Regions from separate parts of the Homo sapiens genome. Here all the other regions are linked to region 2. Evidence: promoter capture Hi-C in 16 types of primary human blood cells and fetal thymus (Javierre and others, 2016). All regions are on one chromosome and are shown on one strand. The core of a region is centred on a gene start or on the middle of the fragment in contact, and the rest is flanking DNA. Distances in the headings are between cores, read along the strand shown. Region 1 overlaps SPI1 (Spi-1 proto-oncogene). Region 2 holds the start of KBTBD4 (kelch repeat and BTB domain containing 4). Region 3 overlaps FNBP4 (formin binding protein 4). Region 4 holds the start of AGBL2 (AGBL carboxypeptidase 2).

Region 1 (5,942 bases), core at 2,078-4,577, 200 kb before region 2:
AAAAAAAAAAAAAAAAAAAAAAGGCAAGGCGTGATGGCTCATGCCTATAATCCCAGCACTTTGGGAAGCCAAGGTAGGAGGATCACCTGAGGTCAGGAGTTTGAGACCAGCCTGGCCAACATGGTGAAACCCCATCTCTACTAAAAAATACAACATTAGCTGGGCATGGTGGTGCACACCTGTAATCCCAGCTACTTAGGAGGCTGAGGTAGGAGAATCGCTTGAACCTGGGAGCCAGAGGTTGCAGTGAGCCAAGATCACACCACTGCACTCCAGCCTGGGCAACAAGAGTGAAACTCCGTCTTAAAAAAAAAAAAAAAGATTGTAAATGTATTTAAATTTTCAGCACACACACATACACAGAAGGTTATTCAGATCATGGTCATGTCATTTCCCTGCTCAGAACTCCCCAGTGGCTTCCCATGGTGTGTATGATAAAATCCAAATGCCTGCCATGGCCTTCGCCCTGCGTGAGCAGCTGACCCCTTTGGCTTCCCTTTCTGTCCCCTGCCCTGTGCTCACTGGCCTCTCTGGTCCTCTGTCAGGGTCCTTTCTGCTTTTGCATTTTCTGTTCCCTTTACCTTGAATACCTCTCCCCTACCTATGGTCACATGTGAATTACGAGTTCCTTCTCTTAGCTCAGCTGCCACCTCAAAGGCCTTCCCTGACCACTCAAATGAAAGCAGCCCCCCATGTAGACACTCCGCATTACATCTGCAGAAAATGGTCTCTTTGTCTGATTCTTTTTTTTTTTTTTTTGCTGGAGTCTCGCTTTGTCTGTCACCAGGTTGGAGTTCAGTGGCGCGATCTCAGCTCACTGCAACCTCCGCCTCCGGAGTTCAAGCGATTCTCCTGCCTCAGCCTCCCAAGTAGCTAGGAGTACAAGTGGGCACCACCACCTGTATTTCTAGTAGAGATGGGGTTTCACCATGTTGGCCAGGATAGCCTCTATCTCTTGACCTCGTGATCCACCCACCTCAGCCACCCAAAATGCTGAAATTACAGGCATGAGCCACCACGCCCCAGCCTATTTAATTCCTTATGTCCCCATCCCCTCGCTGGAGAGTGAGCTCTGTGAGAGCAGTGGCCTTGTCTGGTGCTCATCATGGACTCCCCAGAGCCTACAAGAGTGTCTGATACTCAGAAACTATTTAATGGATGGAATAGGGAGGAAAAGTGGATCAGATGGGAAGCGGCTGGCAGGATGGACGAGTAGGTGGGTGGATGGGAGGGTGAGTGCATGGATGTGGGGGTGGGTGGCAGATTGACTGTCCCCTGGGTCAGTGGAAAATAACCCAGTTGGTCTCTCACAGAGCCCTCTGTGCTTTTCCCACTCCCCAGCCGCTTTGTCCCTCCTGCCTTGAGGAATGCAGTGAAGCTAGCACGGGCCTCGTCCTCTGCACGTTACCTTACCTCAGAGATTATATGCCTTACCTCGCTGAATCATCACAGCCCTAGGAGGTAAGTATTTTCATGCTGTCAGTTTTATAAATGGGGAAATAGGGACTCAGAAAGGTTATGTTACTTGCCCCAAGTTTTCACAGCTGGTAAGTGATGGAGCCAGGGCTGGGCCAAAGCTTTTTCACTAAGCTTCAGTACCTAAAAATGTGGACAAAGAGGACGTGCAGGAATTGACAGAAGTGTGTGGGGGTCTCTATGGTTGAGTCTTCAGACGATACCTTCCAGCGGGTATAAAAAGGGACAGCCCGGCCGGGCGCAGTGGCTCACGCCTGTAATCCCAGCACTTTGGGAGGCTGAGGCAGGCGGATCACCAGGTCAGGAGTTCGAGACCAGCCTGGCCAACATAGTGAAACCCTGTCTCTACTAAAAATACAAAAAATTAGCTGAGCGTGGTGGCAGGCGCCTGTAATCCTAGCTACTTGGGAGGCTGAGGCAGGAGAATCGCTTGAATCCGGGAGGCGGAGGTTGCAGTGAGCCAAGATTGTGCCACTGCACACCAGCCCGGGCGACAGTACGAGACTCCGTATCAAAAAAAAGGGACAGACTGGGCGCGGTGGTTCACACCTGTAATCCCAGCACTTTGGGAGGCCGAGGCAAGTGGATCACTTGAGGTCAGGAGTTTGAGAGCAGCCTGGCCAACATGGTAAAACCTCATCTCTACTAAAAATACAAAAATTAGCCAGGCATGGTAGTGCACGATTGTAATCCTAGCTACTTGGGATGTTGAGGCAAGAGAATCGCTTGGACCCAGGAGGCGGAGGTTGCAGTGAGCCAAGATTGGGCCACTGCGCTCTAGCCTGGGCAACAGAGCAAGACTGTCCTAAAAAAAAAAAAAAAAGAAAAGGACAGCCCAAATGCCCTGATTGGCAGTGATTAAGAGTGGGACAGAGCCAAGGCCGAGGACACCTGGGAACACTGGTGGAGTCTCTGGAGGAACTAGGGGTTCATGACCAACATGGGGTGCCCAGGCATCCAATCAGGAGTCATTCCTAGAGTCCCACCTGAGATATAAGGAACCTGCTTGGACCCTGAGCCACGAAAACACATGCTTTCTCTAAAGTGCTCACTCCATCAGGCCCAGCCCCAGGCTCACTGGTTTCCAGCTATGTGGGCAGCGCCCTCATATTACAGGAAGGAAAACTGAGGCTGCAAAAGGCCCAAAGGAAACGCACCCAAGCCCAGTGAACTGAAGAGGGATTGGGCCAGGGAGAATGCGTCCTTGTTGGAGGAGGCCTGACAGCACTGTCTGTGGTGACCCGAGCCACCAGGGGGCGCCTGTCCCAGGGCCCAGCGGGACCTCCTGGAGTCCTGGAACCGCTTGGGAAGGTGGGTGCGTGGTCTCTGGGTCCCCCAGACCGGGCTCTTCACTCTGGTAGGGAGAGCTGGGGATGGAGTTGGGGGAGGGGGACTTTCTCTCTACATTGCCTGGGTTTCCCACCAAGAGGATGTGTTTTTTACATAATTACAAATAAGCTTGAAGGAATTAAAAAGGATATTTTAAAGGCTTTCTAGCCCTGAAAGATTCTAAAAGATGCCTGTGCGTTCCCAGCTGTGGCCTGGAGGCATATCCGCCTACCCCTGGGATATGGCTTCCAGTCTGAGTTCCGGATGAATCTGGGGCCCTAAATGTGGACCAGGCACATGTGGATCCCTAGCTGGGCCCATCAGGTTTAGACCGCCACAGGTGCATCTGCAGAATGGAGCTACAGGCATGACTGGCCGCAGGGGTGGCCTTCAGGAGTGACACCTTCCTAGGCTGTGGGCCTCTGCCCTCTGAGGTGCAGACACCCCAGTCGCTGGTCTGCCCGGGTCCCAGACGCCCTGAGGAATTCCCCAGTGACGACTCACCCACTGACTAGGCCACCTCGCTTTGGGTCAGGGATGTCTACATCAATAAGCCAAGATCCACTTTGGGCAACCTCCCGCAGCCCCCTGCTCAGGTCCCAGGCACCTAATGCCTCTCTCCCATCCCCTGAATTTGCTCCAGGACGGAGGCTGGGCTATGGGGCAGACAGTCAGACCCAGAAGGACTGGACAGACAGAAGGACACCCTGGCCCAGGCCTCTTCCTCCCACTTCAGCAAACTGGGGGCCTCGGCCTCTGCTGAACAAGAGGTTCTCATAGGTTTTCCTTCGGCCCAGCAGTTCCCAATTAGGGGTGATTTTGCCTCCCGGGGGGATCTGCCAATGGGTGGAGACATTTTTGGTTGTCATGATTGGCCATGGCCCTGGCATGTGGTAGGTAGAAGCAAGGATGCCACTAAGCTTCCTACGGTACCCGGGACAGCCCACCCAGGAATCATCCCACCCAAAATGTCAGCAGTGCCACAGTTAGGAAACCCTGCCAACCACACATGGCAGGAAGTGCGGATGTGCCGGCGGGGAGTTTGGGACAGAGAGTGACGAGAACAGAGAGGAGGAGGTGGGTAGTTAGGCAGGGGCAGAAAAAAAAGCACAGGACCTGGAGCGGACAGACCTGGGTTCCACCCAGCAGCCGTGTGACCTTGTGCAAGTCTCCTAGCACCCTAAGCCTGTTTCCTTGTTTATAAAGAAGACCACAAGGACAGAACCAGCAGATAACCATGGAAGAAATGAACCCCGCACCTTGACACACTGCAGAGGCTCCATAATGGAGGCTCAGGTGTGGGGGTGCAGCGATGATGCTGCAGTTCACTGCCTTTGAGAGCAAACTTGATCTGATTCTCAGAATTCCAAAGAAGTCCTGGGAATCATTTATTCTTTTTCTCTCTCCAGACCCCAGGAGCCCAGGCTGGGCTGGGGGATGGGGGCGTGGCAGGCCCCGTACTCACCGCTATGGCTCTCCCCATCACTGCTGAGATAGGGGTAATACTCGTGCGTTTGGCGTTGGTATAGATCCGTGTCATAGGGCACCAGGTCTTCTGATGGCTGCTGAGAGAGGAGGTGTCAGGGCCTGCACCATGGTGGGAGACCCCAGCCAGGCCTGCAGCACCCCCGCACGCTGGGTCCCCATCACCTTCCCTGGCTCAGTGGCTGCGTTGGACCTACAGCCCTCCCTCTGCCTGGAACTGGGACAGAGAGTGGGGCAGGGGACCCAGAAGGCCTGAAAAGGGGTGACAGGGACCTTGGGGGTGAGAGGTCAGAAGAGGACCAGGGTCCCCCTCTGCTGGGCTACTCCCCATAGCCACCTCACGCTCACACTCACACTCACGCCTGTGTGCCCCCATCCTCATCCCACACACCTCTCCTGGTCACACTGATGCACATGTCCACACGATCCCTGTGTCACCCTCACACTCATAATCCCACACGAGGACTCACTCTCACAGCCCCTACCCACCCCCATGCAGGCGCCTGCACACTATCCCTCACACACACATCTTCATACCCACTCAGAGGTCACCCACCTCACAGAGACATTGTACACTCAGCTCATGCACACACGCAGAGTCTCCTTGATTGACACTCACATGACACCACGTTCCAGCCATCAACACACACACTCACACCCCCAGAGCCACTCACATTCCACCTGCACACTCAACCGCACAGCACACACTTGCCTGCCCAGCCCCACTCTCACAGCCTATGCCTCTCACACAGCCTGGGCAAGAGTGGCACCACAATGACCCTCCACACTGACGGTTGGTGCAGGGGTCACCCAGGCAGACTTAGGGGCCGAGCGCATGGAGGGCCTTGATCCCCTCACTCTCCCTCCTGAGTCCTCCCTATCCTCCTCCTTCCCTCCTCACTGCATCCCCCTCCCCGTCTCCTTTGCTTCCTCCTCCCCCTCCTCACTCCCCTCTGTCCTCCTTTTCTTCCCCCTCTTCCCTGTCCTCCTTCTTTCCTCCCACCTTCCTCCCTCCTCCCTGTCCTCCTCCCCCTACTGGCACAGACACAGGGCCGTGCACACCCAGGAGCCTTCCCAACAGTCATCAGGCCTCCCCGCCCCCGCAGCGTGTGGCCCAGGATTGCATAACAGTCACTGTGGCCCTTAGGGCTGGGCTTGGGGGACCGGGGCTGCCTTGGGAGCCCACCCTACCAGGAGACACTCAGAGTGACCCTGGAGCTTGCAGAGAGGGCTGGGGGTGCCTAGGGATGGCCCAAGGAGCTCTGCCACCCATCTAGCTCCACCTGGAGTTCAGAATTGAGAGGTCAGGGATCAGAGACAGTGGGCCTGTGGCTTTCTTGAGGCAGAATTGGCTCTTTCTGAGACAACCTCCGTCACCCTCTGCCTGGGCCGCCCACTTCGTGTTCCCAGGTGGGAAGGGGTGTCGGTGTGGATGCCACAGCAGGCTGGCTGGTCCTGCCTGGTCCTGCCTGTGGCTGGCCAAGTGAGGAGGCCAGGAGCCCAGCACTGAGCCTGCCCCTCTGGGTTTCCAGGTAGTACAGCCTCGCTGCAGGATGTCAGCCCGGCTCTGGTCGGGTTGGTGTGATGTCAGGCCTGGGGTGCCTCCCAGCCTCCTGGGGTGGCTCTGAGCCAGGGCATAGTGGGGGAAGGGA
Region 2 (2,763 bases), core at 1-2,500:
ACTCGCTGACATCCTGCAGCACAATCACCCGGTTGTGGGCCTCCTTCAGGTTGGAAGTGAACATGGATCGGAAGAAGCAGCTCTGAGCTGAGAGGACCAGCCGATGGAGCTGAAACTCCCGGCCTTCCACCGAAATGGTGACATCAGCAAAGAGCTCCTCCTCTAGACACAGTTTCATGATGCCTTGAGCCACACGGCCTGAATGTGACCGATCTTTGAAAGTGTAGTTCACAAAGTAGTTCTCATCCATGGATGCTCCAGGCTCCTCTGGTGATTCCATGCTAGCCAACTTCTCTCTCTGCCAGCTGTCTGCAAAGCAACACCATCTTGAGTAACCTGAGGAATTCACAGCCATAGTCTGTGAATCCAACTGTCCAACTCAGGGAGGGAAAAGGAAGAAGTGAGAGCAAAGTGGGTCCAGATTGGCCTTAGTCCTGGCCCTGTCCATGATGTCCCTGACGCTATCCTTTAACCAAATCTGGGTTCGTTATCCCCAGTGGCGCCCCTCCGCTAATGATATAAATAAAAGTTCCAACTCTGGGTGTTTTCCTGAGAAAACACGGAATAATTCCTTTCCATAATGTTAACAAAAGACTTGGGATTTAGGTCAATATATGAAAGCAAAGGGCTGGGAGAGGCCTGTGATCGTAAAAGCCTTACTAACCAAATAACTGGGGCATAAAACTAGTGAAGCTCAGGGGCAGTAGAATCAGACAAAAAGGACCCCTGGCCCCGGCCTAGTGGCCAGGTCCTCTCCTTCCCAGCGCATGGAGTTAAGACGCTCCATATGAAGCCTAGCCTGGGATATCCGTGGGTCTTACATTTGCTCTCTTCTGAGCTGCTTCCCCCACACTTCCCCGCTCGCTCGAAAGACTCCCTATGGCTGCGTCCCAGAACTTGAGTCCATCCGCCCCCAGGCCGGGGCACTGGGAGGCCCATCACCCTGTGCAATGTCCCCGCTCCACCTTGAGTCGTCTTGGAAACGGTCGCCAGGGAAACCGTTCTTCCCGCTCAGGCCCGCCCGCCCTCGTCAAAAGCTTGGCTCAGAGAGCGGGGGAGGGGTGTGTAGCGTAGAACCCAAAACGCCCGCCCCCTCCCCTCCTCTCACCCGCCTGGTTCTTCAGCGTCCTCGCCTTCTCTCTAGGCTCTGCCACAAGGAGCTAGGACCACGCTCACCTCACGATTTCCCTACCTGCCTGTCTCGCTTTCTCACCTGCGTTCCCTCCTTTCATCCCGGAGCCCGGAACCTCCGCTTCCGGCTCCACGTCCGCCCGGAAGAAGATCTGCTGCACACTTCCGTTTCCGGTCCGTGCCCTTGGGGCTCCGTGTCCTGCTGTCTTTCCGTCCGCTGCCTAGTCTGCATCTGAGTAACATGGCGGCGGCGGCGGTAGCCAGGCTGTGGTGGCGCGGGATCTTGGGGGCCTCGGCGCTGACCAGGGGTGAGCACGGGCAGCCAGCTGAGACCGGGGTCAGGCGCAGCGGCGTGCCCAGTGCAGAGAGCTCCTCAGGGCTCATCCCGCGCGTCTGTGCCTTTTATCTCCCTGTGCAGGGACTGGGCGACCCTCCGTTCTGTTGCTGCCGGTGAGGCGGGAGAGCGCCGGGGCCGACACGCGCCGTGAGTATGTGCGGGCAGCGCTCTTCTCTGAACTATCGGCGGGGCCCCTTAGATGCCTGTCCTTGCCCTAGGATGCCCTTCCCTACGTCCTCCTGGCAAATCTTGGAGATCTGACTTGCAGTGGTCTTCACCCTGCATGCAGAATCGAGCCCTCCCTGTGCCCTTAGGCCTGTTATGGCCCTGATTGTTCCTTGTCCATTTCAATCATCCCCTTTTTGTCTGATTAAACTGTCAGCTCTTTGAAAGCAAGCAATATAACCTTTAGGCCTCAGAGCCCTGTAATAATAGTACCTAGCGTTAATTGAGTGCTTAATGTGTGCCTGGAACCTCGCTAAGCGTTTTAGTGAATGATCTTATTTCGTCCTCACAACAGCCTTATGGGGTAGATAGCATCTTACTCTTCTTACTATAGATCAGGAAACAGTCCAAAGAATTAAACTGCCCAGGGTCAAAGACCTAGTGAATGACAAAGTAGGCCTGCCTGCTGCCAGAGGCAGAAACACCTAACCATTATTCTGTAGCTTGTGATGTGTGATTGCTCAGTGGTTTAGGGTTGCATGAATGAGTATGTACATATTATGTTACAGTCAAGATACACGGACTGGGAGTTAGGAGACCTGGCATTTCTCCTTTCCTGGGTTTTCTCATTGACACACACACACACACACACACACACACACACACACACACACACACCTGGGCCTCAGTTTTCTCATTGACACACACACACACACACACTTTTAAGGAGAGAGAGAGTCTGTGAGGGATCTTCAAGCCCTGAAGTTCTTAGCTTGAGAACCTGGTATAAACTTGCGTGCTAAGGAGCTACAGAGAGGCAAAAGTTCAGTTCCCATCCTCAAACAGCTCTTAGTCTGACAGGAGAACTGAGACTACTGCTTTAGCAGAAATGCAGGCAATGTGAGGGAAGAACTGTGGAGTAATTTTGAGAAGAGGTGAACACCCCAGCTGCTATAGTAAGAGTCTTTCTGAGGACCGTGTAGTTAAGGTGGCACTTTCCCCAAGTTTTCATCACTGTATTCCCTAGAAGGGAAACCTTTCACATGCACCTTTCTCAAGGTGCTTCAGGGAGCCTTTCCTGGATTTGACATCCCTTACAAGCCTAAGAGACTGCATGCAGGGCTGGCTTT
Region 3 (5,605 bases), core at 3,106-5,605, 170 kb after region 2:
ACCGCTGAACATAGACCCTTATCAGTACCTTTTTGCCCTTTGAAGCACATGATCTACTCCCTGTTCTTACACCTCCTCCCCTTTTGAAACCCTTAATAAAAAACTTGCTGGTTTGAGGCTCGGGTGGGCATCATAGTCCTACCGATATGTGATGTCACCCCCGGCGGCCCAGCTGTAAAATTCCTCTCATTATACTCTTTCTATTTCTCAGCTGGCCGACACTTATGGAAAATAGAAAGAACCTAGGTTGAAATATTGGGGGTGAGTTCCCCCGATAACTACCAAAAGTATCATCAAGGACCAAAAAACCTACACCTCTGTAGTTTAAAGTTTTTGCTGCATAAGCTTCAACATACCTAGATGATGGGATAAGAAAAACAAAATCCCAATAATGGTTGTAAGTCAAGCACAATGATCCCTGTAGAGTAGTACTGAGGAAAAAACATTCTACAAGTAACTTTCAAAAGCTTACTTTTTTCCTTTCCAAAACTAGCTCCAGTTCAAGGGTATCTTGTTCCTCTTCCTCCTCACTTTCTCCAGATTGGACAACACTGCAAAGATCCTCCTGAGAAGGGTCTTCTATATTGTCCAACATAATTTCCTGTGGCTTTACTATTGTTGTTGCTTCTTCTACTGTTGTACTTGTTTCTTTTACTTCTGAAACTGGCTCCTCTTTACAAATTACTTTTCTTCTCCATCTCTCTTCTTCTTCTTTTATTCCCTCAGGCAATAAAGGAGCAAGCAGCGATGCTGCCACCCCTTTCTTCTCCTCCTCACTATTTGAGAGAGCCTGAATTCCTTCATTTACTTCCTATAAAGAACAAAATAATTTAGTCTCATTTAATTCTGAAACAAATCTCACCTGCACATACATTCAATTGCACACACATTCATATTAACTGTTTTCAGTAGCTGAATACTCAAGGTAAAAACGACTTTTTTTTTTTTTGAGATGGAGTCTCGCACTGTCACCCAGGCTGGAGTGCAGTGGCACAATCTTGGCTCACTGCAACCTCTGCCTCCCAGGTTCAAGCTATTCTCCTGTCTCAGCCTCCCAAGTAGCTGGGATTACAGGCGCCCGCCACCATGCCCAGCTAATTTTTTGTATTTTTAGTAGAGGCCTTTCACCACGTTGGCCAGGCTGGTCTCAAACTACTGACCTTGTGATTTGCCCACCTCAGCCTCCCAAAGTGCTGGGATTACAGGTGTGAGCCACCGTGCCCGGCCAAAACCACTTACTCCCAACAGGTGAGTATATATTTATACCATTACATTATTACTTTAGACAGACACTGACTGAATGAGAGCCTAGTTCTAGGTAGGATTCAAATATATCCTCCCTGCTATTCTCAGGATGTCAAAAGGCAGACTAGTAGTAAACAGAGATAGATTTAAGATCAGTATTTTGTCAGCTCATAACATGACTGGATAAATCTTTACCTTCTTCTGTATGATGAGAAATTTTTTTTTTTGAGAGAGTCTCACTCTGTTGCCCAGGAGTGCAATTGCGTGATCTCAAGTCACTGCAACCTCTGCCTCCCAGGTTCCAGCGATTCCCAGCCTCACAGCCTTAGCCTCCCAAGTAGCTGGGATTACAGGGATGCACCACTACACCCAGCTCATTTTTGTTTCTGTTTTTGAGACGAACTCTCGCTCTTCTTGCCCAGGCTGGAGTGCAAAGTGTGATGTCGGCTCACTGCAACGTCTGCCTCCCGGGTTCAAGCAATTTCCCTGCCTCAGCCTCCTGAGCAGCTGGGATTATAGGCGAGAGCCACCAAGCCTGGCTAATTTTTTTTGTACTTTTAGTAGACACAGGGTTTCACCACGTTGGCCAGGCTGGTCTCGAACTCCTGACCTCAGGTGATCCGCCCACCTTGGCAACAGGCCCAATTTTTGTATTTTTAGTAGAGACAGGGTTTTACCAGGTTGGCCAAGTTGATCTTGAACTCCTGACCTCAGGTGATCTGCCCACCTCAGCCTCCGAAAGTGCTGGGATTACAGGCGTGAGCCACCATGCTGGGCCTGATAAGAAAATTTAGTAAGTATGCCATGAAGGTGATTTAGACTAAAGTGAACTATTCCTAGGCCGGGCGCAGTGGCTCATGCCTGTAATTCCAGCACTTTGGGAGGCCAAGGCAGGCGGATCACAAGGTCAGGAGTTTGAGACCAGCCTGGCCAACATAGTGAAACCCCATCTCTGCTAAAAATACAGAAATTAGCCCGGCATGGCGGCGTGCGCCTGTAATCCCAGCTATTCGGGAGGCTGAGGCAGAAGAATCGCTTGAACCTGGGAGGCAGAGGTTGCAGTGAACTGAGATCATGCCACTGTACTCCAGCTCGGATGACAGTGTGAGAGACTGTCTCAAAAAAATAAAATAGCTGGGCGTGGTGGCTCATGCCCGTAATCCCAGCACTTTGGGAGGCCAAGGTGGGAGGATCACATGGTCAGGAGTTCGAGATCAGCCTGGCCAATATGGTGAAACCCCGTCTCTACTAAACTACAAAAATTAGCCGGGCGTGGGACAGGCGCCTGTACTCCCAGCTACTCGGGAGGCTGAGGCAGGAGAATCGCTTGAACCCGGGGGGTGGAGGTTGCAGTGAGCAGAGATCGCGCCACTGCACTCCAGCCTGGGTGACAGAGCTAGGCTAGGTCTCAAAGAAAAAAAAAATAATAAAAATAAAAAATAAAAATAAAATAAAATAAAATAAAATGAACTATTCCTGAAATGAAATTTGTGATTAAAGTATCTGCTTCTCCCATTGGGGTAACACTTGTCCTATCCTCCTTTCTGTAACTGTAAATTTAAGTTATTATTATTATTTCTGGATGGTCTCACTCTGTCCAGGCTGGAACACACTGGCACAATGATAATTTTGAACTCCTGGGCTCAAGCTATCCTCTTGCCTCTGCCTCCTGAGTAGCTGGGACTACAGGTGTGTGCTACCTTGCCTGGGTAATTTTTCTTTTGTAGAGATGGGGTTGATCTTGTTATGTTTTCCAGGCTGGTTTAGAACTCCTGCACTCAAGCCATCTTCCTGCCCTGATTAAATTATTATTTTATTATTATTATTAAATTTTTTTTTGAGATGGAGTCTCACTCTGTCACCCAGGCTGGAGTGCAGTGGTGCGGTCTCAGCTCATTGCAACCTCTGCCTCCCAGATTCAAGCGATTCTCCTGCCTCAGACCCCCAAGTAGCTGGGACTACAAGCATGTGCCACTACACCCAGTTATTTTAGTATTTTTAATAGACGGGGTTTTACCATGTTGGCCAGGCTGGTCTTGAACTCCTAACCTCAAGTGATCCGCCTGCCTTGACCTCTCGAAGTGCTGGGATTACAGGTGTGAGCCACTGCGCCAAGCTCAATTATATTATTTTAAAGTATTTTTTTTGGGCTACATGCAGTAGCTCACACCTATAATGTAAGCAATTTGGGAGGCCGAGGCAGAAGCATCACTTGAGCTCAGAGTTTGAGACCTGTCTGGCAAACATGGTGAGACCACGTCTCTCAAAAAACAAACAAACAAACAAACAAACAAACAAAACCTGGCATGGTGGTGCACACCTGTAGTCCCAGCTACTAAGCAGTCTGAGGCAGGACTGCTTGAGCTCAGGAGAGTAAATCTGCAGTGAGCCATGGTCGTGCCACTGTACTCTAGCCTGGGTGACAGAGTCAGATCCTGTCTCAAAAATAAGTAAATAAAAAGGAAAGGTGCGGTGGCTTGTGCCTGTAATCCCAGCGTCTGAGGCAGGTGGATCACTTGAGGTCAGGAGTTCAAGACCAGCTTGACCAACTGGTGAAACCTCGTCTCTACTAAAAAAAAATAGAAAAATTAGTCAGGCGTTGTGCCTGTAATCCAAGCTACTCGGGAAGTTGAGGCAGAATTGCTTGAAACTGGGAGGCGGAGGATGCAATGAGCTGAAATCGCGCCACTCCCTTCCAGCCTGGGTAACCAAGCAAGACTCTGTCTCAAAAAGAAAAAAATTAAAATTAAAATATATTTTGATGCAAAAAAGTCTTTAAAATTGAAGATAAATTGGAATTCAATATACACTCCCTAAGGAATACAACTTACTTTTCTTACTAATTAGGCTATAGAAATGCTCAGGTTTCACTAACATAGTATCCGTTATTGAAAAATCCAAAATCTGAAACCGTTTGAGCACTGACATGATGATCAAAGGAAATGCTCACTGGAGCATCTCAGATTTCACATTTTCAGATTAAGAATACTCAACTGCTAAGTATAACGCAAATATTTCAGAATTCAAAAAAATTCAAAATCTAAATTATCTCCGATCCCAGGCATTTCAATTAAGAAATACTCAACCTGCAGTAGTTTTTAAAGTAGTTACCTTTATATTTTTAAAATGTCTTATATATGGAATCCGAAAAATAATAGAATGATTCTATGTGAAGTGGAGCCCTGTCTGGACTGCTGCTCCCACGTCCTTTGCAATGATCCAAGAGGCCTCTGTGATACCCTAAAGCTCTCAAAGAAAAAGTGAAGTGGGCCAGCTGCAGTGGCTCATGCCTGTAATCTCAGCACGTTGGGAGGCTGAGGCAGGTAGATCACCTGAGGTCAGGAGTTTGAGACCAGCCTGACCAACATGGTGAAACCCTGCCTCTAATAAAAATACAAAAATTAGCCAGGCATGGTGGCAGGTGCCTGTAATGCCAGCTACTCAGAAGGCTGAGGCAGGAGAATCACTTCTTGAGCCTGGGAGGCAGAGGTTGCAGTGAGCTGAGACAGCACCACTGCGCTCCAGCCTGGGCAACAGAGCGAGACTCCATATCAAAAAAAAAAAAAAAAAAAAAAAAAAGGCCAGATGTGGTGGCTCACGCTTGTAATCCCAGCACTCTGGGAGGCCAAGGCAGGCGGATCATGAGGTCAGGAGATCGAGACCATCCTGGCTAACACAGTGAAACACCGTCTCCACTAAAAATACAAAAAATAAGCCAGGTGTGGTAGCGGGTGCTTGTAATCCCAGCGACTCAGGAGGCTGAGGCAGGAGAATGGTGTGAACCCGGGAGGTGGAGCTTGCAGTCAGCTGAGATCGCACCACTGTACTCCAGCCTGGGTGACGGGGCGAGACTCTGTCTCAAAAAAAAAAAAAAAAAAAAAAAAAAAAAGAAAAAAGAAAAAAGAAAAAGTCAAGTGAGTAACCGCTATAAAGGCTACATAATACACAGAAACAAAGTGAAAGTTATGAAACTTATCCTATTTCACATGTATGACATAAAATATTAAGAGAAGGCTTCCACTCCTGTGCTCAGAGTAACGCTTATTAGATCTGAAAATAAACAAATGAGGTAAGTTTCGACACTGACCTTTTTAACTTCTCGCTTGGCTATGACTGGTCCACTTTTACTACTGGAAACAGAAATCGTTTTCTCCTTAGAATATATGTCTGTATTTACCACAAAACTAGTTTCAGCACCTGGCACAGAACTAAAAAAATATATACTTAGCAAGAGAAATATAAGACAAATACTATCAGCAAAAGATAAGGCTTCAATTTCCTTCTAGGCAATTTCACTTTTAAATTTATTCTTACCTGGGCTGGTAATGCTGTAATCCCTGTACCTGTGTGGCAAGATATT
Region 4 (5,787 bases), core at 1,626-4,125, 140 kb after region 2:
CTAAGTAAATGGAGATAAATATTATAGTCATAGATTGGAGAACCCAGTGTTGAAAAATTGCCAGTTCTTGTGAAATTTGATCTACAGATTTAATGCAATTCCTATAATCTTTTAAAATGTCATAAGCGGGCTGGGGACAGTGGCTCACGCCTGTAATCCCAGCACTTTGGGAGGCCAAGGTGGGTGGATCACCTTAGGTCAGGAGTTCGAGAACAGCCTGGCCAACATGAGGAAACCCTGTGTCTACTAAAAATACCAAAATTAGGCCGAGCGTGGTGGCTCATGCCTGTAATCTTGGCATTTTGGGAGGCTGAGGTGGGTGGATCACCTGAGGTCAGTTCGAGACCAGCCTGGCCAACATGGTGAAACCGTTTCTACTAAAAATACAAAATTAGCCAGGCATGGTGGTACACGCCTGTAATCCCAGCTACCTGGGTACTTGGGAGGCTGAGGCAGGAAAATCGCTTGACCCCGCGAGGTGGAAGTTGCAGCAAGCCTAGATTGCACCACTGCACTCCAGCCTGGGCAACAAGAGCATAACTCCGTCTCAAGAATAAAAAAAACACTGGGCGCGGTAAGCTCACGTCTGTAATCCCACCACTTTGGGAGGCCTAGGCAGGTGGATCACCTGAGGTCAGGAGTTCAAGACCAGCCTGGCCAACATGTTGAAACCCCGTCTCTACTACAAATACACAAAAAAATTAGCTGGGAGTGGTGGTGGGCGCCTGTAATCCCAGCTACTTGGGAGGCTGAGGCAGGAGAATCTCTTGAACCCAGGAGGTGGAGGTCGCAGTGAGCCGAGATTGCGCCATTGCATTTCAGCCTGGGTGAAAAGAGTGAGACTCTATCGCAAAAAAAAAAAAAAAAAGAAAGAAACAAAAATTACCCAGGCGTGGTGGCTCGTGCCTGTAATCCCAGCTACTCAGGAGGCTGAGGCAGGAGAATCTCTTGAACCTGGGAGGCAGAGGTTGCAGTGAGCCGAGATCGTGCCACTGCACTCCAGCCTGGGCGACAGGGTGAGACTTCATCTCAAAATAAATAAAAAATAAAATAAAATGTCATAAGCCAATTGCAAAATTTATTTTTTTAAATTTTTATTTATTTATTTTTTTTGAGACAGAGTCTCACTCTGTCGCCCAGGCTGGAGTGCAGTGGCTTGATCTCGGCTCACTGCAAGCTCCGCCTCCCAGGTTCACGCCATTCTCCTGCCTCAGCCTTCCCAGTAGCTGGGACTACAGGCACCCACCACCACGCCCGGCTAATTTTTTTGTATTTTTAGTAGAGACGGGGTTTCACCGTGTTAGCCAGGATGGTCTCGATCTCCTGACCTCGTGCTCCACCCGTCTCGGCCTCCCAAAGTGCTGTGATTACAGGTGTGAGCCACCGTGCCCGGCCGCCAATTGTAAAATTTATATAGTAAGGCAAAGACTCAAGAACAGCCGTGACACTTCTGAAGAACAAGGTGGGAAGACATGTCTTTCCAGATAAAGACTATTTTAATGCCATATAGTAATTAAGAGACAGTGATACTGGTAAAGGATAGCCAAACAGACCAATGGAATAGAGAGCCCAGAAACAGACCTTTGTATTAAGTGATGCTGTCTACTTGACAGAGGTGACCCGCAGATCAATGGGGAAAGGAAGTACTTTTCACTAATGGTAGAGGAAAAAGTATTTATTTGTCAATGCAAATTATTTATTAGTCTACCCAAGTGCAACCCTCCCAGCTAACGAAGCAATTTTCCTCTTGAGTCCAGGAAAGGTGATACTAGATAAGAACATGGTATTACCTTTAAAGTAGCCATAATATTGGAGGTGACGGTACATAAAGTCTTCATAAGGATCAGGAATAGTCTGTGAAAGGAAAGGCCACTTCAATCAAGATAATGTTTTCAAACCATAATAGACTCAACAAAAAGTACATGAGCGTTGTTGCATAGGACTAGACTAAACCAAGCGAGCTGCATTCCATGCGAATTATTCTATCGTGGGGATCAAGATCTCCAGCTGAGAAAAGATGCCACCAGAACATCCCTTCTCATCTAGTAGCAGATTTCTGTGGAGTTCCCGAAGAAATGGAGTTCCCCGAAGAAATTTCTGTGGCTTTCCGTGTTGTGTACCGACCTGCTTTAGGTGCGTTTCCAAAGCTGGGAACATGTTACTTCTGGATGGTAGGCTGAAAACTAGTCAGTGACATTAGCATCCAGTCGCAAACCCTGCCCAATTTCCAAATAGGCAGCTGATTACACAAGAGAAGCTACAAAGCCACAAGAGGACAAGTGAAAAAACTGCCAATACCTCCCCGGGCGCCCCCCAGCTCCCTCTTGACTTCAGAAAACCCTGCCAACCCAGCTTCTCCTCAGCTAAACAAGGTGGTCACGCCGAGGCCAGAGGTGCATCTGAGACAGGGAGGGCAGCGTATCTTCCCGCTTCTTCTTCCCAAGGTGCTGGCCCCATGCTTCCCTTTCCCTGAGAAAGGAGATGCTCGCCACAGGAAAGTGAAAGAAATGGGTATGGGAGCACGCGACGAAGTCGTCTCGGTAGGTGCCGATGGAAAAAGGTCAGGGGGTTGGGAAAGTGGGCCCTAAAGATTGAATTTAGGGTTCAGAGGAACCTGGTCTGGGGCAGGTGGTGAGGGGGTTTCCTAAGGGTAGGAGCGGGGAAGGAGAGCAGAAACTTCCCAGGAGGGCAGAGCGATGGATGCGACCGCCTTCGCGCCCCGGCCCGTCCCAAGCAGCACGGATGGCTGCGGCAGAGAAGCTCCAGCGAGGCAGGCGGCCACCGCACTTAAGTACAGAGGCCAAGCAGTGTGCGGGCAAGGGGACAAACTCGCTGCACCCGCCCGCCACCGCCTTCTGTGAGGGCCCGGGTAGTCTAGCAACCGAAAGCAGGAAGCGGAGAAAGGGCGGGGCGGTCGGGCGCTTCCGGGGAGCTAGGCCTCGCCCCCAAGGAGGGAGCGGGGACCCCGGGAAGGTCTGCAACATGTATGGCGGGCAGCGGCTTTCTTCCCCTCATACATCACAGCCCCAGCCTCGGAATCGAAACCGCATTGATGAGTACGATGCCAGTAGCCTTCAACATACTTCCAAGCTGGTTTGCTGTTGGCTTTAGATAACTGTTATGCATAATTTGCTCTAAGAGAGCTGCTGCTTCTCTCCTTTCACCTTAACATTCTCTCCACTGCACAGCTAGAAAGGAAAAATTACCTTCTACACTGCAAATCTTAAGAAACAGAGCTAACAAATTCAAATCACACATTTTGATTAGGTTTAAAAAAATCAATTATATGCATAGAAATTTACTCCAGGCCAGGCGCGGTGGCTCTCGCCTGTAATCCCAGAACTTTGGGAGGTCGAGAGTTGGAGACTAGCCTGACCAACATGGAAAAACCCCATCTCTACTAAAAATACAAAATTAGCTGGGTGTGGTGGCGCATGCCTGTAATCCCAGCTACTCGGGAGGCTGAGGCAGGAGAATCACTTGAACCTGGGAGGCGGAGGTTGCGGTGAGCCGAGATCGTGCCATTGCACTCCAGCCTGAGCAACAAGAGCGAAATTCTGTCTCCAGAAAAAAAAAAAACAAAAAACCAACAACAAAAAAATAAATATACTACAATAAAATTCAAACACGTGTCTTTGGTTAACTATATATGAATATAACCGTATCTGTTACTTTTATCAGTGGGGGGAAAAAAGCTATAAAGCACCTTTTTTTCTGAAATGTTAACCATATTACATCATTGCCAGGAATTAAGTAGGTAAAATATTATCTAATATGGCTATTAACCAATCTAGATATTATAGATAATATTAGACCCCAAAACTTTGATCACACAGCACCATCTGGGACTAGAAGCCTGTTTGTCTAAACTGGCCCCACCACTCCCCATTAAAGATCTCCTGCTCATTTTCTTGAAAGCTGTTGTTAAATGTTTGCACCTTGCATTGTATATGCTTAGAAAAAAAAACAAGTCCTGGTTACATAATCAGAATAACAGGAGTTGACGAGCAAAAGGATAACCCATCAGGATTATAAAAAAAGCTTTATTAGTGCATATATACAAATTTACAAGGTCAGAAACTGGAGAAATACAAAGAGCTTTAAAACACAATTTGCCGTTTCCTCAGTTTAAAGTGACTTTTACCTGATTGTGATACAACAGAAAGTACAGAACAGTAAACTGCTTTTTAAATACTGGAATTTTATGGAGAATACATTCACATAAAGAAAGGAGGTGAATTTTGTTTTGGAACAGGGTTAAGACAATGGAGACATTAATACATAGAGTGTCTTGTTGTATTTACTGCCACATACTTGAGGGGAAATTCTCAAAATCAAGGATATGAACACCTGCTGCTGCCTGTATGCCACCTAGTGTGCGAAACGACCGAGCTACCAGTTCTAGAACTTATGAGAACTACTCTAAAGAGTGTGGCCATCTATCAGCACGAGGTAAACCACTTAGACCTCAGCACTTCAGGGGTGGCCGACTAGAGAAAAGAGGCCAGAAAAAGCTTCAGACAATTCCAGTCAAGCAAGGTAGAATGCAGAGCTGCCTTCTGAATTGCACTTGTTCTGGAGGAGAAGTTAATTCTTCACTTTTGTCAGGGAGTCCTCTACAGAAGTGTTATACTCATGAGCCACATGTTCTTCAAGACTGATGAGGTTAATACACCTAACATGCTAAGTTTGCCAGTTTGAGAATAAAGGCAGCATGGTCAAAGCAATTCCAATCACCTCATCCCTTTGCAAAAACAGAAAAATTACATTTCACAAAAGTGAAAACTTTGTATGCATACACTCTTGCCCAGGAAATTTATAAGATCTCCCCCATAACATTTATAGTTTATTTGACAATAAAACTGGTTAAGACTTTGAACTGAACACAAAACAAACAATAATACAAAAAAGTTTTAAAAACTTAAAAACTATGTGTTTGGAGCCATTTTCCTTCTCTTCAGCCTTGCTCTCCAATCCTCAGGAAGGGCTTCAAAATTAGCATTTCTCTCTGCCATGCCACTGTGAAAACAACATACAGATTATTTTAGTGGAAAGAAAAATTAACAAAAGTATTCATTTCCCAGCAAATAAAAATCTAACTGAAATTAAAAACCTGATCTATCACGTCTATGTTTATGAAAATCTTTTGTTTCTCAGCCAAACATCAGTATATTCTTCATCAAACTTCTTCATTCTGATAGGTCAACCAAACACTACCCCAGTTTTACGTATATGTCTAAGTGCATATTTATTTATTTATTATTGACTGATTGAGACGGAATTTTGCTCTTGTTGCCCAGTCTGGAGTGCAATGGTGCGATCTCGGCTCACCGCAACCTCCGCCTCCCAGGTTCAAGCGATTCTCCTGCCTCAGCCTCCCCTCAGAGTAGCTGGGATTACAGGCATGTGCAACCATGCCTGGCTAATTTTTTTTTTTTTTAAGTAGCGACAGGGTTTCTCCATGTTGGTCAGGCTGGTCTCGAACTCCCAACCTCAGGTGATCTGACTGCCTTGGCCTCCCAAAGTGCTGGGATTACAGGTGTGAGCCACCGTGCCCGGCCTTATTTATTTTATATAAATATACCTCCAATAACCATTAAAGGCACACTGAAGAAATGAAACACGTTCTATTAGAGTTTTTCTTAGCCCACAGGAGTTATGATTCTTCAGGGCAGATATATCTAATCCTCAGTCTACCAACAGGGACCCTGGGATCTAATGTTTTTTTTTCTGTTTTTGAGATGGAGTCTTGCTCTGTTGCCCAGACTGGAGTGCAGTGGCACAATC

The links. Contacts are between HindIII fragments. The CHiCAGO score rates a contact against its expected background, and 5 or more counts as called.
Region 1: a fragment that was not itself captured here is called in contact with the fragment with the promoter of KBTBD4 in region 2 in 1 of 17 cell types (endothelial precursors); the score reaches 6.5 in endothelial precursors.
Region 3: a contact is called between a fragment that was not itself captured here and the fragment with the promoter of KBTBD4 in region 2, in 1 of 17 cell types (M1 macrophages). The highest score is 5.3, in M1 macrophages.
Region 4: the fragment with the promoter of AGBL2 here is called in contact with the fragment with the promoter of KBTBD4 in region 2 in 1 of 17 cell types (endothelial precursors); the score reaches 5.0 in endothelial precursors.

Annotation. Positions count from the first base shown.
Region 1 is chr11:47,371,363-47,377,304 of GRCh38, forward strand. SPI1 (Spi-1 proto-oncogene) reads right to left here. Exons shown (of 5, transcript NM_003120.3): 2 at 4,271-4,367. Among named protein-coding and RNA genes, the nearest start is that of SPI1, 4.2 kb to the right of the region's middle. RefSeq lists enhancers at 2,804-3,305, 5,739-5,938. The HindIII fragment of the contact is 791 bases long and covers 2,933-3,723 here.
Region 2 is chr11:47,577,720-47,580,482 of GRCh38, forward strand. It overlaps KBTBD4 (kelch repeat and BTB domain containing 4), which reads right to left and starts at 1,251. Exons shown (of 4, transcript NM_018095.6): 1 at 1,214-1,251; 2 at 1-309. The coding sequence starts at 1,232. It overlaps NDUFS3 (NADH:ubiquinone oxidoreductase core subunit S3), which reads left to right and starts at 1,355. Exons shown (of 7, transcript NM_004551.3): 1 at 1,355-1,439; 2 at 1,550-1,615. The coding sequence starts at 1,373. RefSeq lists enhancers at 810-1,469, 1,162-1,401, 1,470-2,128. The HindIII fragment of the contact is 1,977 bases long and covers 1,036-2,763 here.
Region 3 is chr11:47,745,584-47,751,188 of GRCh38, forward strand. It overlaps FNBP4 (formin binding protein 4), which reads right to left. Exons shown (of 17, transcript NM_015308.5): 5 at 5,560-5,605; 6 at 5,333-5,453; 7 at 473-811. Among named protein-coding and RNA genes, the nearest start is that of FNBP4, 19 kb to the right of the region's middle. The HindIII fragment of the contact is 7,780 bases long and covers 466-5,605 here.
Region 4 is chr11:47,712,494-47,718,280 of GRCh38, forward strand. It overlaps AGBL2 (AGBL carboxypeptidase 2), which reads right to left and starts at 2,876. Exons shown (of 19, transcript NM_024783.4): 1 at 2,682-2,876; 2 at 2,125-2,257; 3 at 1,791-1,854. The coding sequence starts at 2,157. FNBP4 (formin binding protein 4) reads right to left here. Exons shown (of 17, transcript NM_015308.5): 17 at 4,001-5,019. The coding sequence ends at 4,929. RefSeq lists an enhancer at 2,554-2,613. The HindIII fragment of the contact is 6,151 bases long and covers 1-4,039 here.